Regions from separate parts of the Homo sapiens genome. Here regions 1, 2, 4 and 5 are each linked to region 3. Evidence: promoter capture Hi-C in 16 types of primary human blood cells and fetal thymus (Javierre and others, 2016). All regions are on one chromosome and are shown on one strand. Each heading gives the region's core, a stretch centred on a gene start or on the middle of the fragment in contact. The rest is flanking DNA. Distances are from core to core; before and after follow the strand shown.

Region 1 (3,127 bases), core at 236-2,735, 3.3 Mb before region 3:
AGTAATAACCCACGTCTTCTATACATCCCACATTTTCCAACACTGTCCACATTGTGCCATTTAAGACAGTGGCTGTCAATACTCAAAGTATGGTTACAGTCCGTTGAATGAGAAACTCAAAATGTTACAAAAAATAATAAAATTGTTTCTAGTGTTTCTTCTTCATTCACCCAAAATATATTCCACATTGGATTTTGAAAAACTGGGTTACTGAAACTCCTTTTCTTAGCTATCTTAAAAACTTCAAAAAAAAAAAAAATCAGGATCCCTTCCCTTTATTCTGTCAATTCTGTAATTTCCCAATACTTTAAATTCCTTTTCTCACCAAAGTAGTTCCGTTTCTATTATCTTCTCCTAACAATATTTTCTAGGCCAATATTCTGATGTTCATCGTTGCATCTTTTAATGCTAAAGACTGTACAAATCAAAGTTCCTAATGTCATCAAGGCAAATAATTATTTGAAATACAGCACTAGTCAAATTAAGAGTACCAAGAAAAACACTTAAATTGTGAGAGTGCAAATGAGACCAAAATTAGAATGAATTGCAAATGCATTTATTGAAGGAATAATTACTGATTTTTGAGGAAGACCAAAAGGTCTGAAATCAAACGCAACTCTGATTTCAGAAGAGCCACACAGAACACAAATTAGGGAGCTTCCAAGATGCTACTTAAATGCATTTTCATCAGCTTAATTCTAGGCCTTACTGCCCATAGTAAATCTACTGCCCTAGTAGCCAAGTAACCAAACTGCTCAATATAACAACTACATTATCAAGTGTTTTACTTGGTTTCCAAAACCACTCTGTTGCAAGTAGGTCTCAGGAAATTGGTCTTTAAAAAAAAAAAAAAAAAAAAGGAAATTTAAGTTTCTAGGGTTAAATTCTCCCGTCACAGTGTGGCCGAGACAGGAAGGAGCAAATATGCTTCTTTGCGGGAAGGATCTGGAAAGATGCGGCCGACCAGTCTTTTGCACATTGGCTTCCAAGGGGAGGGTTGGGGAAATGGAAACCAGCTTTCAGGTGCGGAACACGATCACTAGTGGCGAGAGGCCGCTGCCTGGGGCTGGAAAGCCGCACCAGCGGGGTTGGCAAGGAACGCATCCCACCATTCGCGGCAGCTGCTGCAACGCTGGAGGTCCAGGTGAGGCTGGGGAAGTCGCCGGCCTCGCCCAACGTGGCAGGGAGGGGCCGGGAGGAGCGGCCGGCGGACTCAGCCGGCGGGATGGGCCAGCGCGCCTTCATCCCCCTCCCCGCCCCCAGACCTACCATGGAACTCGAAGTGGCCGATGCGCTGGCCCTGGGCGTCCTGGGCCGCGGTGCTGCTGAAGCTGCCCCGCAGGGTCTTACCCTGGCTGCCCTGCGGCCACCAGCAGCACGTGAGGGCCACAGCCAGCAGCCGCAGCCCCCCCATGCCCGTCTCCAGGTCTGCACCGACGCCTCGGCTCCCAGCCGCCGGCGGCTGCCCGCCCCACGTCGGCAGCTGGGGGAGGCGGGGTGGGCGCCGGAGACCTGCTGCTCTGGAGCCTGAGAGCCAATGAGGCGGGCTCCTCTGCCATAAGCCGAAGACATTCACCAGTCAGAGGCCGAAATGGGCGGGACGCGCAGATCCTAGCGTCCCATCAGTCCCCGGCTTTTGACTAGTTCCCGCCTTTTTCTTTAATGAGGAATCAGGAGGATGTTGCTTCAGGTTACGGAAAACTCATCTCCCTCCTCATTGCCTAGCACGTCTTGCTACTGAGCATGCGCGGGCGCGCTGGCACGAGTCCGCGGGGCCTTCGAAGGGCTTGTGGGATTCGGAAAAAACTTAAGAAATGCAGGACAGGACTGTTTCTGGCCGAGAGAGTTAAACTCCCGCAAAGAAAAAACTGTGTTCTTATGCAGATTTTCTTCCTTGGCGCCTGTATAACCTACAGGACGTGTCCGATTTAATGTCTCAAAGACACTTAGCTCCGCATGACCACAATTTAACGCATGCCTTCTCTTGGCATCTCCAGCCGATTTTTCCCTCCTAGGTTCTCTGGCTTCTCGAATTACATTACCCCCACCCCCACCCCCGCCCGCAGACCAGACCGCTGGGAATTGTAGGCCCCCCCCCCCCCGCAATTCAATCAATTCAATAACAAGTGTGGATTAGCCCTTCTTCTGGTGAGGGTGGGAAGCAGCGGCCACAGTCCTACTCAGTTCATCACTTTGTTGGCCTATGGCAAAGACCGTCTCTACAGTCTTCATTCTAATTGGCTACAATCCATCTCTACCCTACAGCCACAGAAAGCTGTAGGAAACAATTTGCTGCACTTGCCTTGAAAGGTTCTCAATTGCCTTTAGCACACAACCCAAACTCTAGAATATGGCTCTTCAACTCTCAAATGTCTGTTTTTTCTCATCTCCATCCTTACCGCCGTTGGTTTCCTGAACACTCCCAAGTTCTCCCTTCTAGGCCTATATCACTCCCTGATCCCTCTGGCTAGAATACTTCTGCTTATTCCAACACTGGACCTCCTCACCTTCCTTTTCCTCCTTTACTCCTCCTTCCCAAGGCACTTTAAGAAGCCTTTCTCAAACCCCTAAGTCTGTAGTAGATGCCCCTGGAACCAGAATCCCTTACTTCCCTACCAGAGCACTCACGCACTGTACTGTAAGTATCCATTCATGTGTCTGAAATCTCCGCCTCTATTGTCAGCTCCAGCTGGTCAGTGACTACACTTTTTTTTTTTTTGAGACGGAGTTTCACTCTTGTTGCTCAGACTGGAGTGCAATGGCGCGATCTCGGCTCACCTCAACCTCTGCCTCCCGGATTCAAGCGATTATCCCACCTCAGCCTCCCGAGAAGCTGGGACTGCAGGCATGCGCCACCATGCCCGACTAATTTTTTATTTTTAGTAGAGATGGGATTTCTCCATGTTGATCAGACTGGTCCCAAACTCCCGACCTCAGGTGATCTGCCCGCCTTGGCCTCCCAAAGTGCTGGGATTACAGGCGTAAGCCACCTTGCTGGCTATACCTGTCTTAATGAAAGTGAGGCAGGAGAATAGGGCCTGGGGTGAGGGAACCTAAGGCGTTTTTACACCGACTTTCTAGAACTATTAAAGGAAAACCCTAACTTTCCACCCTAAGTAACAAAAGG
Region 2 (3,125 bases), core at 451-2,950, 3.2 Mb before region 3:
GAGTGGTTACTCTACAAATTACAGATGTGTAATTAGCTTATCAAAGTGTAAAGTTCATCAAAACCTTTGCCCTCTTCCTATTTAATTTCCAACTCCATTTTTAGCTATTTTTAACTCAGTTTTTATCTGGATTTTTTTTTTTTTTTTTTTGAGACAGAGTCTTGTTCTGTCACCTAGGCCAGAGTGCAGTGTTGTGATCTCGGCTTACTGCAACCTCTGCCTCCCAGGTTCAAGCAGTTCTCGTGCTTCAGCCTACCAAGTAGCTGGGATTACAGGCGTGTGCCACCACGCCCGGTTTATTTTTTTGTATTTTGAGTAGAGACGGGGTTTTGCCATGTTGGCCATACTAGTCTCAAACTCCTGACCTCAGGTGATCCACCCACCTGGGCCTCCCAAAGTGCTGGGATTACGGGCATTAGCCACCATGTCCTGCCTGGAATTTTAAATTGATCTTATTTTATTTTGTTTTTTTATTTCCACTAGATGACATTATTACTATTTTATATAGTCAGTAGTCATTATATTAGGGGTTTACAAAATGATATCCTAATTATGTCATTCTTCATTTATACCTGGAATATCTACATAAAAAGAAGTTTTCCAGCCAGGCGCAGTGGCTCACGCCTGTAATCCCAACACTTTGGGAGGCTGAGGTAGGTGGATCACCTGAGGTCAGGCGTTCAAGACCAGCCTCGCCAACATGGTGAAACCCCATCTCTAAAATACAAAAAAGTTAGCTGGGCGTGGTAGTGGGCACCTGTAACCCCAGCTACTCGGGAGGCTGAGACACAAGAATGGCTTGAATCTGGGAGGCAGAGGTGGCAGTGAACTGAGATTGCGCCACTACACTCCAGCCTGGGCAACAGAGAGAGAGAGAAAAAAAAAAAGTTTTCCTTATACATTATTTGGTTACCTTGAGATTTAATTGTTATGGAAAAGCCAGGTTAAGTGCCTGATTATTTTTATTTATTTAGTAGATTTTACTATAATGAGTTGGTTTCCAAGCATCCTCATTTTTCTTTTTTCTTAATATTGCTATGAATTTGTAGATTTTAACACATTTGATTTTGTTTGTTTTAATCATTTGCAGTTATTTTTCTTATTTATGTTCAAAATGACTCACCATTAGCCATTGAGAGGCTCTTCTAGTTGCTTCCTGAGTCCTTTTTGACATGACCTTAGCAGTCTTTGACAACCATCTAACTTTCTGGTTTGATAGGATGTTTCAGTTTTATCTTCAATGTTTTTCCCCCTAGATCTGGAATCAGCCCTTTCTGTCAGGAGCCATTGTTCCTTTTGGTGGGAAATGGTGTTTAGAGGCCACAGTCTGGGCACTGGGAGTGCTTATTAACTGATTGGACATTGTGTCAAGGCTTTTTCAGTTAACAAAACTAGGGAATATTATTTGCCTATTTACTTAAGATTAAATATGACATGGGTTTATACTGAAATGTCCAATCCGCATTGAGATTTTTTGTTTAAGTTCTTCAGTCTTTCATTTATATCATCTTTTCCATACCCTGAACACCTTGGTTCTCAACAGCACCATCCTAATTACTCATTTACTTTATTCCAAAACACACAGTGAGTCCACATTTCTTCTTTTAAGGACACCAGGTAGATCGGATTAGGACCCATCCTAAAGACCTGATTTTCACTTAATCACCTCCTTAAGAGCCCTATCTCCAAATATAGTCACATTCTGAGGTTCTGGGGGAAGGGGTTAGGCCTTAAGATGAATTATGGGGAGAACACAGTTTAGCCCATAACTCTGGGTTAGAGGGAAATGCCTATGTAATTTGACTAGATATTTCCAAGTTTCCTTCCTTAGGGAATTGTAAACATTTTACATCATCATTGTCAGTGTACAAAGTGTCTTTTGCCTAACAGCCTCAACAACTAAGTGATTTGTCAACTTTTTGAATTTTTGCCAGTCTGGTAAGTAAGAAGTGGTATCTCTGAGTTTTTAATTTGGGTTTTTCTTACTGTAAGTGACATTGATCATCGTAATCTTAAGGACCCATTTATATTTCTTCATCTAAACTGTTTATGTCTCCTACCTGTTTTACTATAGGATTGTTCTTAATTTATTTAAAGTTCTTTATAAATTGACGATACTAACCCTTTATCTCTGTAATTTCACATGGTTTTTCCCAGTTTGTCATTTTTGTCTTTTTAATTTGTTTTTAGTTTTTTAACCATGCAAAATTTTTATATGGTCAAATTTATCATCCTCTTCCATTATTGCTTCTGGATTGTGATTCATCATTAAGGAAGTTCCTTCCGTTTCCTGGTTATAGAGGTTCAATTCTTGTAAGGTGAATTTATGTTTAAATAACTCATTCAGCATTTATTGCTTTCAGCAGTAACAGATTGATCTTAAAAAGCCTATCCCTGTAATTCATAATTTTTTTTAATTTAAAAACATTTTAAATTTTCATGTATTATTTTTAAATTTTCTTCCTTATAGAATAAAAAACTTTCCTGCAAATTTAACATTAGTTTTCTGGGTTCTGAGAATTTACATGTACTATGTAATTTAGGTTTAAAGAAATCATAAATATGACTGCCTGTGTATGTTATTATTATAACTCTTGCAGCTGTGGTAAATGAAGAACAGTGACTAGTACTCTCCTTAAACCTGAGTCCATCATTTGGCATTTGTTTTATCCGTTGGGTAGACTTGTTTTAGCTTTTCACTCTTTTCTTTTAGATCTTTCATTCGTACGTGCCTTTGAGTTTACCTATGTTAATGTTTATGGCACTCACGTTTTGGTAAGTGCTGCTCATGAAGCCAGAGTGGAGAAGTTTATTTATGTCAGCACAGATGAAGTATATGGTGGCAGTCTTGATAAGGTGAGCTTAGAAAATGTATATTTTACCTACTTAACCATGTACCATGATACAGTTTTATTAAACCTACACTGGGCTTTTTTCATCCTCAAATTATATACACTTGTGGCACTCTTCAGAGTGTATTAGGGTTCTCTAGAGGGACACAACTAATAGAATAGATATATAAAGGGGAATTTATTAAGTATTAACTCACACGATCACAAGGTCTCACAATAGGCCATCTGCCAGCTGAGGAGCAAGGAGAGCCAGTCTGAGTCCCAGAATTGAAG
Region 3 (3,541 bases), core at 199-2,698:
CCGGCAGCACATGTCGCACAAGGGGGAGCGCGGCCCTGCGATTCTCCGCGTAGCCGCCAGGGGGCGGCGGGTCAGAGTCAGGCCCCGCCGGACGCGGCAACCCCCCCAACCCGTTTCCCGGCGGCAGCCGCGCGGCGACCGGCGGCGCCGAGGCCCGAGTGCGGCGGGGACGCGGGCGCGCCGCCCCTCCTTTGTGTCCCCCAGCCCCCCCGAGCCCGGCCCAGAGGGGCGGGGGCTCCGCGGCCGCGGTGCCCGTCGCACGCGGCCCGAGGCCTAAGCCGGGAACAATCGGCGGCGGCGCGCAGTCGCCGCCATGTCCCCCGCCCTCACCCCCGTGCAGCCCGCCCCGCAGGAACATGGCGGCGGGGACGCCGCTCCCGCCGAGCCGGGCTGGCCCTCCCGCGCCACACTCCCAGCAAGCGGCCGGGCGCAGGCGGCTCCACGCCGCGGCTGAGGCCGACTGCGGCCTCCTCCGAGGGCCACGGCGGGGAAGTTGCGGGCCCCGCCCCGAGGCTGCCCACGCGGGCTAACAAAGCCCACGCGGAGCGGGGGTGGCGCCCAGGCCGCGCCGATCTCGGCGCCCCTCCGCCCACCCTCGCGCGTACAAAGTTTGGGGAACCGCGGGCTCCCGCCCACGCCACGCCGCCCGCTGGCGCGCAGGTACCTCGTGGGCGCGCCCCCTCCCGGCCCGCGGCCTGCCCCATGTGCCGCCGCCGCCGCCGCTTTGTTCTGGAGGCGCTTTAACTCTCGCCCTCGGGAGAAACTTTCCTACCCAGAGACCCCACGCCCCGCGCGCGCCCCGGGCCCCGGAGAAGGCACGGGCCTCGCACGTCCTCTCCCCGAGGGGCCATTGTGTTCGCCGTCCGCCCACCCGCCTTCGGGTCGGCCCAGGCAGGGTCTGCGCGGGTCCCGGGCGCGGCCGCCACGCGCACGCCGCCCCCTCCCACCCTCCCGCCCCGGCCCTGCCCCCCTCCGCCGGCCCGCGGGCGAGCGAGGGGGCAGCCAGATGCGGCTGCCACACGCCGGGGCGGCCAACGGCCGAGACCCGCCCCGGCCACGCCGCCGCCGCCACGCTGCCCCGGGCCAGTCCGCCCCGGGCCGCTCCGCCCCGCCCGCCAGACCCGGGCCGCACACAACAGGTTTCCCTCCGTCGCCGGAGGGGCGGGCAGACTCACCAGGAGGAGTAGCCGCCACCATCTTCGGCTGGCCGGCCGCGGGCTCCTGCTCCCGCCTCCCCGCCCGCCTGCGCTTTACTACGACCGGAGGCCCCAGGCCGGGGGTGCGGCCGGCCGGCCCGCCCCGCGAGGAGAGCTTCGCGGAGGAGCGCGAGCCCCGGCGGCGCTGCGGTAGTCGTCCCCACCCCCTCGGCCTCGCCCGAGGGCGCGAAGTGGCGCGAAGGCGCAGGTCGGGCGGCGGCGGCGGCACCTCGAAGGACCATGTGGGTGAATGAAGGGCGGCGGCTCCCGCCTCAACGTAAATACGGACAAGCCCCACTCCCTCATTAGCATAAAAAACAAAGTACTTCCGACCTCCCCGCCCGCCCGCCAATCACCGCAGGCCCCGCCCACGGCGGCTCGTTCTTGGCGGCCGGGAGAGCGGGAGCCGGGAGCCGCTGGCGGCGCCGCGCAGCCTTCCCCGGGCCGCGCTCCCCCGTGGCCCGCCCACCGCCGCCAGCCTCGCGGAGCGCCTCGCCCGAACACCTCGCGCCACGCCTCCGGCACGCCCTCCGTTAACAAGCTCTGCGCGCGTGCAGACCCCCGCGCGCCGCACACCCTCCTGGAAGCGCACGCTTCCCGGGGCTTCCTGGGAGCCCTGCTCTCCCTGGGACTCGACGTGTACGCTGTGCGATCACAGTTTATTACTTTACCGGCCCTTGGTGGGTTTCCGAGGTAATTAGGGGCCTGCTCCAGGCCAACCGGAACCAGAGAAGTAAAATCCAGTGACTTTAACATCGAAACAGAATTACTCGCTGCAAAGATCGTTTGAGACCCAGAAATAAATACATTACACCCGACACTCTTGTGAATGCACACTTCGTGGCAATGTGTTTCCTTAACCTGGCCGCGTGTAAACCAAAACGCATGCCCGAGCAGAGGTTTCACAGCTGCAGTACCTGAGCCTCCCCTCTCATGCCCAGCTGCATTTAGTAAGAACTCTGGGTTCTCCAGTAGAAATAGCATAGCTCGGAAAGAACCTCATAAACAACCACAAAGCTGAGAAAAGAAGCCCAATCAGGAGCACCTCCTTCTTCACATTGTGGTTCAGGAAATTCCGGAATTCTCAGAAACATAATTGTTAAAAGTGAGGATTCATAACATTTACGAGAAATACAGCAATTATAAATTGGTTTAAATCTAGTAAGTAGCTACTGCAAAGCACATATCACTGGTTCGTGATTGTACAAGTCAACTGTAAAACACACATTACCAAAGGATGTCTTTAATGCCCCAATGTTAAAATTTTTGACATTCAAACCTTGACAGTATTGTCATTTACTGTCTTTGACTTATTTTATCATGCTTTGCTTAAATCCAATTGTCAAACTAGTGATGACATAAAAAATAGTGGATTAAAGTTTTGCTACTCTTTTTTTTATTGAGTCTAGTTTCTAGATATTCCTTTCTTTGTAAATCAAAATAAAAGGCCAAATCTGAAATTTTACAATATCTAATATTTCTGTAATATAGTCATTTATGAACGTTTCAAAGAGGAAAACACTGCTAATTTTATTACAAGTCTAATTTTACGTTACTTTTGGTCGGCATTGACTAATATGTCAATGCCTTTTTCTTTAAAACTTTATCTTCTGTTTCAAATTAGAATGGTTGAGGCGGGGGGATGTTGTGAGTAAGATTGTTCATCACACTCTCTGAATCATGGGAAATCCCACCTATATACAGGTTTCTTAGCAGGAGTTATTCATCTCATAGTTTCCTTCCAATTAAAGTCAACATTGAAATACTACTAGCTTTAAAAAGCTGTTTTTAGGTATCTCACTATATTTCTGTGGAAATCTGACATACAAGCAACTATTTTCTGTGACTACAGTATAAGAAATAATTCTTAATGTATACCCTTTTTTATGGTAATCAGGATTTTGGAAGACGCAAATTCATTTAAACCTACTGACTTGGAAATTCCAGAAAGTTTCAGAATTAGTAGGTTGCATTTTAAGGGTTTCGCTCATACTTCCTTTCAAAATTAATAAATTATCTTAAGTATAATTAGAATAATTGAAAACGTTTTAATCCCAAATGAATTTGAAGCTTAGCCAACTTGATGTTTTTTGGAAGTCACTACTAGTGAGAAACCTATCTTCCCTGATTTTAGGGGCCACACTTGGGTATACTTGATAACTAAAGGGAAGATTTTTGTGGTTATAATTTTGAAGATCACAAAAATATGTGAACTGCTAACAAATGCCTTCTGCAACCAAGGAATGTAAAAATAAAGCAATCTGAAATGCCAAAGTGAGACACACAGCCTTCTCAAGTCAGCTAAAACACAGTACTGTTTTACACAATCCAGAACATTCAGAACG
Region 4 (3,558 bases), core at 146-2,645, 3.2 Mb before region 3:
TAAAAAATATGTCCCCCCAAAATTAATATGTTGACACCCTAACCCCGATGTGACTGTATTTGGATGTAGCGTTTTTGGGAGGTAATGAAGGCTAAAGAGGTTGTAAGCGTGGGTTTCTAATCTGATAGGACTGATGGCCTTGTGAGATGTGGAAGCCTTCTCTCTCCACACGCATACACACACGGAGGAAAGGTCATGTGGGCACACAGAGAGGGTGGCCTCGGCAAGCCAGGAAGAGAGCCCTCACCAGGAACCCAATCCTCCAAAGCCTTGATCTTGGACTTCCCAGCTTCCAAAATGTGAAAAAATAAATTTCTGTTGTTTAAGTCACCCAGTCTACGGTATTTTGTTATGGCAGCCCGAGAAGACTGATACGGTAATCTCAAGCAAGTTACTTATTAGTGTCTCCGGAGCATTAGCGTAAAATTTGTGGTCAGGCGAAATAAATGCTAAATTCTCTTCCAGCTCTTAGCTATAGTATGATTCTAACTGAAATTGTCTTGGCTCAAGAAGACCGCCAAACATTATTTATTTATTTTTTTTATTTTAAAAACAAATCTGAGGGTATTTTTTTTTTTTTTTGACAGGGTCTCACTGTGTTACACAGGCTGGAGTGCATGGCATGATCACAGCTCACTGTAGCTTCTCCCTCCCAGGCTCAAGCGATTCTCCTGCCTTAGCCATTCAAGTCAAGTAGCTAGGACCACAAGTGTGTACCACCACACCTGTCTAATTTTTTAATTTTTTTTTTTAAGACAGAGTCTCTGTTCCCCAGGCTGGAATGCAGTGGCGTGATCTCAGCTCACTGCAACCTCTGCCTCCTGGGTTCAAGCGATTCTTTTGCCTCAGCCTCATGAGTAGCTGAGATTACAGGTGCCACGCCACCATACCTGCCTAATTTTTGTATTTTTAGTAGAGATGGGGTTTCACCATGTTGGCCAGGTTGGTCTTGAACTCCTGACCTCATGTGACCCACCTGCCTTGGTCTCCCAAAGTTCTGGGATTACAGGCCTGAGCCACCTCCCCCGGCCTAATTTGTTTTTTTTTTTTTTTGTAGAGACAGAGTTTCCCTATTGTTGCCCAGTCTGGCCTCAAACTCCTTGGCTCAAACGATCCTCTGGTCTCGGCCTCCCAAAATGTTAGGATTATAGGTGTGAGTCACCATGCTTGGTCTGAGTTTCAAATTTTTAGAAAAGTTATAAAATGATACAGAAGAATTCCATATACCTTTTACTCAGATACGCCAAATTTTAATATTTGTTTCTATTTTTTAATATTATCTTCATATATACACATGCATGTGTGTATATGTTTACATATATAATAATATGTATGCATACTATTATTTATTTTCAGAATCTATTTGAGAGTGGATTGTCTCTCATCCCTTAATAGTTCAGTATGTACTTCCTGAAACAAGGATATTTCTTACCTAACTATGGTTGCCAACTTCAGGAAATTTAGCACTGATAAAACACACTCATCTAATCTGCAGCTCATGTTCCAATTTCATTAGTTGTCCCAATAGCACCCTTTAAAGCATTTTCTCCTCCAGAATAGGAACCAGTCTGGGATTACACATTGCACTGAGTTGTGTTTCTTTCACCTCCTTGCATATGGAACAGTTCCTCAGCTTTTCTTTGCTTTCGTGACCTTAACAGTTTTGAATAATACAGGCCATTTATTTACTAGGATGACCTTTACTTGGGGTTTGTATAATGCTGCTCCATGATTAAAGTTAGGTTCTGCTTCCCTGCCTGGAGCACTGTGTGTGTTGTGTCTTTTACAGGGCATCACAATAGAAGGCATGTGATGACCGAATGTCCTACATTGGTGATGCTAATTTTGATGACCGGATCATGGCATTGTCCGTTTTCTCCACTGTGCAGTTTAAGCAATCTGTGGAGAAATACTTTGAGGCCATGCAATGATCCTGCTCCTCGTTTAACTGTCCCCCCTTAGACTTAACATCCATTGATGATTCTTGACTGAATCAATCTTTACTATGATGTTTGGAAAATGGTGATATCCCGTGCTACCACTACCTCCAAATTTGTCAGTCTGCACACTTCATTCAGCTATAAGAATCCTCAATTCCTCCCCTGCATCCACCACACAATTATTGTACTAAAGGACTTTTATTTTATTCAAAGGGTAAATAATCCATTAATATTCTTATTTATTTTGATGCTCAGATTGTCCCAGTTTTGGCCAGTAGGAGCCCCTTCAAACTGGTTCCTAGGTCCTTTTGACATACCCCCATCATTTTTAAAATACTTTAAAGAAATATTGATTAAAATCAGAGGCCCCCAAAAATGTGTGTGTGTGTGTGCATGTGTGTGTGTGTGTATGCATGTGCACTGCAGAATCCCAAGGAGCAAACTGAAGGAGAGATTAATTAACAGCCATTTAAATTTTTATCAGAAGTGGGGCACAGTTGTGTGTGTCTGTAATCCCAGCTACCTGGGAAGATCCCTTGAGCCCAGGAGTTCGAGACCAGCCTGGGCAATAAATGGAGCAAGACTCCCATCTCAAAACAAACAAAAAAACCCACAAAAATTTATTAGCTGTTATAACTATATGCAACATACTCTCTTCAGTTTTATTATTCTCAGATCTGCTAGTTAGTTCTCGTAATTAGCTGGTTTTTTTAATCATAGGTAATTAGACTGGAGTTGGCCAAAATCCGCGAGCTCATTTGGAAAACAGGACTGCAGCTTACACAGTTTCTTTCCAACACAGAGTCTTCTTCAACATCTTTATCCTCATTTTGAATGCCAACTTCTTTATCACCTGTCTCTTCTTACTATGATGTGTGTGCACAGATTTTCACTTCACTTTATTTAGCCTGTGGCGCTTGGTCTCCTTGGATGTTCTGACAGTTCTTCTTTGCGCTGCAATCTTGCTGAGTAAAGCAAGGTTTTTCCCAAACTCATAATAATTGTTTTTCGCTTTCTCTGTTCACAGGCAGCTCTTACTGTCTCAGTAATTTTTTCCAATGCCCCCAGGCCAAAAGAAATGCCGAACAATTCCTTTTATTAAGTACTCAGGTCCAAATAACTTAATAAGGATTTATGTCCAACAACTTCGTAGCCACTTGAAAAAAATTATACATATAAATTGAAAGAAAAGTTACACTTTTATTTCATTCTTTTTTTTTTTTTCAAGGGCAGCCTCCCAAGCCAGAGTAGGCTCAGAGACTCCCTAATTTCATTCTCACCACAGTTAACTTACTGGTGGGATGTGTGTATCCTGGACAGTGTACAATTTCTCAAGCTTGGAAACAGATTGGACATCTCAACCCTAATTTCATATTCCCCATTGATTCATGGGTACTTTTTATCATGCTGAAAGAGATGACATCACTGATAGAAATGTAATCTCTTGCCAAAACAATGAACTACTGGGTAGTTTGCATAGCGTCCCACAGATGCCAAGCATCGCTGTGTTTCTCTCAAAAATGTGAAATATTCTTCAGTGCCCCAGGTGGCTGCAGTTTCGGGACCGTGGCACTAAGTCCCAGAAACTTTCGGTCTCCTTTGTAAAACAGCAACAATA
Region 5 (3,275 bases), core at 167-2,666, 3.2 Mb before region 3:
AGCTAATATCCAGCTCTTCCCACTCTGACCATCCTGAGAGCTTGCCGTCTGCTATGCTCTGGGCATGTGATCCTGTCCCAACTTTCATTCTCTGTGTTGAATGTGTGCTTTCTTCCTCATAGCAAAATTCTACTGCCCCTCAAAAGGTGGGTTTGATTTCAGGAAGAATTTTCATGTTCTAGTAACAAAGCAGGGGACTAAGAATTTTGTGAAAAGTCATAAAAAGTCTATTGGAGTTCTTTGGAAATGCAGGTGTTAATGTGTCGCCTGGTGGTGGTCGGGACTGAAAGATGTTGTGTGACCTGGAATAGCTGGAGGGGTGTGGGCTGATAACCCCTAGAAGCTAGAGTAGTGCTGGGCTCTTAGAACAAAAGGAAAAGGGTAAGGACAACAGGGAGAGCCAAACCGCACAGATAGAAACAGACAAATCCTAAGAGTGAGGGAGGAGAAGCAGCTGAGTAGCTTAGACAGTTTATCTAACATGTTAGGATGGGGAAGCTTCTGAAAATGATCTTCATCCCAGGTAAAGAGAGAAACTGCAACAAGAGAGACTGAATGCAACTTCATTCTTTTTCAATCTGAGGTCTCAGTTGTATTTGTGATGGGCAGTGGACAGCCCATAACCTGAACGAACCTGGCTGAAAAATCCAAGTTCAGGGCTCAACACAACGGTCTATGGTTTATACCCTTGAATTCTTACATTGTAGCAAAGACGGATAATGCACCAAGTCCATCTGCTTTTCTCACTACAATAGATGAAGAAGAGGGGGAGATGTGGTATAAAAGGAGGCAGGGGAGAAGGCTAATACCAAGGTATTGGGGCTATGTGTATACATATGGCTTGGCGGGGAGGGGTGGTGGGAAGCACAGCCTCTGGAGGCAGGCTGCCTGGGCCAGAGCTCCAGGCTCACCCCCTGCCTGTGTAATATCCAGAAGTTCCGTAACTCTTCTTTGTTTCAGTCTCCCTGTCTGTAAAATGGAGAAAAATAAAAATCCTTATTTTATAGGGCTAGTGTGAGAATTAAATAAGATAATCCATGAAGAGTGCTTGGCATGTAGTCAGGCAGGTCCTGCAGGCTCAGTAAGCACTCTCTACAAGCTCCACCCTTCTTTCAGGAGTCACTTTCCGCAACATCTCATCTTGGCTGCCCGAGAAAACTTAGCTGTTTCTTCCATCCTGTACTCCCTATACCTTATCCACACAATAACCTGGATATCATCTTCTGGTTGTGTATTTTATTGGTCTGATTTTCTGACTGGCTGCTATTATCTCCTTAAGGTCAGGATTCACATGACTAGCAGAAAACTCATAGTAGGTGCTCAATGCATTTTTGTTGAATGAGTAAGAGTACTTCTCCTCTTTTTTCATCCTGCCAATGGTGGGTCACCACTGCATCATAATCCTTGGCTGTACTTGTTTTTATTATATTTCCTAACATGAGAATCAACTCTTCTGAGAGCCTACACTGACGTTCTTATTCCTTTTCCACATCTTATGTCACCTAGCCAAGTGCCAGAAACATTTTAGGTTCTCAAGAATTGCTTGTTTACATCTATTGACTTAACAGTAAGCAACTATTTCAGGACTAAAAAGGTTGTATGGTTAATTTAAGGTTATGGATGATTTTCAGTGTTTTCGTTTTTATTTGTTTTTTTTTCTCACTTGCATAATTTGTAGAAAGCAATAAAAAAGGCTCTACATCTTCTTCAACATGGCAGCACAGGAGAGCAGGAAGCTGTAAGTCTTTGTTAGTACTTCAAAAAGATCATGGGATTGTCTTAATCTAACAGAGACAGAGACAAGTTTAGGCAGTTTAGGAACGGCCATCTGCCAGGACACTAACTTGGGTTAATTTAGGTTGTAATCCTATGAACCAGGATCATAGTCACACATTACATGGTTGACATTCAAAAAATGTCTTAGCAACAACAGCATTCTCCCCATCTTTCAAGTTACTAGATGTTCTGACTGCTATTTTTAAATGGAAGGTTTGAAGAACTTTCTAGAGAAATGAGATTTGGGAAACCTTTCAGATGTAACTGAGATTGAGAACTAAAGATTTTGTGTTCAGAGAAATTTAAAGAAACTAACAGTCTGGCACAAATAGATACATGTCCTAATAATGGAAACATTTTACTTGATCCGCCAATTACCAATTCAATTATTCTTACAGGGTTACCAGGTGTGTTAGCTTGTTTTGCATTGCTATAAAGGAACACGTGACACTGGGAAATTTATAAAGAAAATAGATTTATTTGGTTCATGGTTCTGCAGGCTGGGCAAACATGGCACCCACACCTGCTCAGCTTCTGGTGAAGTGTCAGGAAGCTTTTTTGTTTTTGCTTTTGAGGTGGAGTCTCTCTCTGTTGCCCAGGTTGGAGTGCAGTGGCGCAATCTTGGCTCACTGCAACCTCTGCCTCCTGGGTTCAAGCAATTCTCCTGCCTCAGTCTTCAGAGTAGCTGGGATTACAAGCTCCCACCACTACACCTCCGCTAATTTTTGTATTTTTAATAGAGAAGGGGTTTCACCATGTTGGCCAGGCTGGTCTCGAACTCCTGGCCTCAGGTGATCTACCCATCTCGGCCTCCCAAAGTGCTGGGATTACAAGCGTGAGCCACCGTGCCCAGCCAGGAAGCTTTTATTCATGGCAGAGGGTGACACAGAGGCAGATGTGTCACATAGCGGGAGAGGGAGCAAGAGAGAGGAGGTACCAGACCCTTTTTAACAACCAGCTCTCATGTGAAAACTCATAGACTGAATATTAAATCATGACCATGGGGAGGGCACCAACCCATTCATGAGGGATCCACCCCAAGACCCAAACACCTCCCACCAGGCCCCACCTCCAACACTGGGGATCACATTTAAACATGAGATTTGGAGGGAACAAACATCCAGACTACATCACTAGGTTACACTGGGTTGGTCTTTAGCAGGCATGTTTGGGAGGTCCCCTTTGAAGAGCAGCTTCTTGGAGGCATCACAGGCCCTGGCTGCTCCCAGAACATTACTCTGTCCAATGTCAATGTTAAATCATCAGGTCCAGGCCTTTTGGTACATGGCATCCTTGAGGGTCGGATCTATCAACCCTGGTCCTAAACTGTATCGACCATTGGCTCCTGGTTGCAGCCACATTTCTGAACACAACCTTTTGTCTCCTGGACCTTAAATAAAAGGCTAAATTTTTCTAAATCTGGAAAGATTTTGTCATTTACTGGCTTCTGAGCTAGTTCTTGAGATCATTTGGAAGCACTAGCAAACTTTTCTGTGGTA

The links. Contacts are between HindIII fragments. The CHiCAGO score rates a contact against its expected background, and 5 or more counts as called.
Region 1: the fragment with the promoter of GPR180 here is called in contact with the fragment with the promoter of MIR17HG in region 3 in 9 of 17 cell types (non-activated CD4 T cells, naive CD8 T cells, total CD8 T cells and 6 more); the score reaches 30.4 in non-activated CD4 T cells.
Region 2: a contact is called between a fragment that was not itself captured here and the fragment with the promoter of MIR17HG in region 3, in 6 of 17 cell types (naive CD8 T cells, total B cells, total CD4 T cells and 3 more). The highest score is 10.5, in naive CD8 T cells.
Region 4: a fragment that was not itself captured here is called in contact with the fragment with the promoter of MIR17HG in region 3 in 9 of 17 cell types (total B cells, total CD8 T cells, naive CD8 T cells and 6 more); the score reaches 19.5 in total B cells.
Region 5: a contact is called between a fragment that was not itself captured here and the fragment with the promoter of MIR17HG in region 3, in 9 of 17 cell types (naive CD8 T cells, total CD4 T cells, non-activated CD4 T cells and 6 more). The highest score is 12.7, in naive CD8 T cells.

What each region holds. Positions count from the first base shown.
Region 1 is chr13:94,600,215-94,603,341 of GRCh38, reverse strand. GPR180 (G protein-coupled receptor 180) reads right to left here and starts at 1,485. Exons shown (of 9, transcript NM_180989.6): 1 at 1,270-1,485. The coding sequence starts at 1,414. RefSeq lists a silencer at 1,075-1,674 and an enhancer at 1,453-1,747. The HindIII fragment of the contact is 8,659 bases long and covers 1-3,127 here.
Region 2 is chr13:94,582,825-94,585,949 of GRCh38, reverse strand. TGDS (TDP-glucose 4,6-dehydratase) reads left to right here. Exons shown (of 12, transcript NM_014305.4): 5 at 2,714-2,856. Among named protein-coding and RNA genes, the nearest start is that of TGDS, 12 kb to the left of the region's middle. The HindIII fragment of the contact is 9,535 bases long and covers 1-3,125 here.
Region 3 is chr13:91,345,594-91,349,134 of GRCh38, reverse strand. MIR17HG (miR-17-92a-1 cluster host gene) reads right to left here and starts at 1,448. Exons shown (of 3, transcript NR_197388.1): 1 at 1,176-1,448. RefSeq lists enhancers at 1-410, 1,880-1,959 and silencers at 1-949, 1,000-1,779. The HindIII fragment of the contact is 6,871 bases long and covers 1-3,268 here.
Region 4 is chr13:94,552,141-94,555,698 of GRCh38, reverse strand. It overlaps LOC124903191 (a long non-coding RNA gene), which reads right to left. Exons shown (of 2, transcript XR_007063836.1): 2 at 2,532-3,558. Among named protein-coding and RNA genes, the nearest start is that of TRF-GAA1-5, 4.2 kb to the right of the region's middle. The HindIII fragment of the contact is 3,767 bases long and covers 1-3,278 here.
Region 5 is chr13:94,536,017-94,539,291 of GRCh38, reverse strand. It overlaps a transcript of DCT not described here. Among named protein-coding and RNA genes, the nearest start is that of TRF-GAA1-5, 12 kb to the left of the region's middle. The HindIII fragment of the contact is 1,831 bases long and covers 501-2,331 here.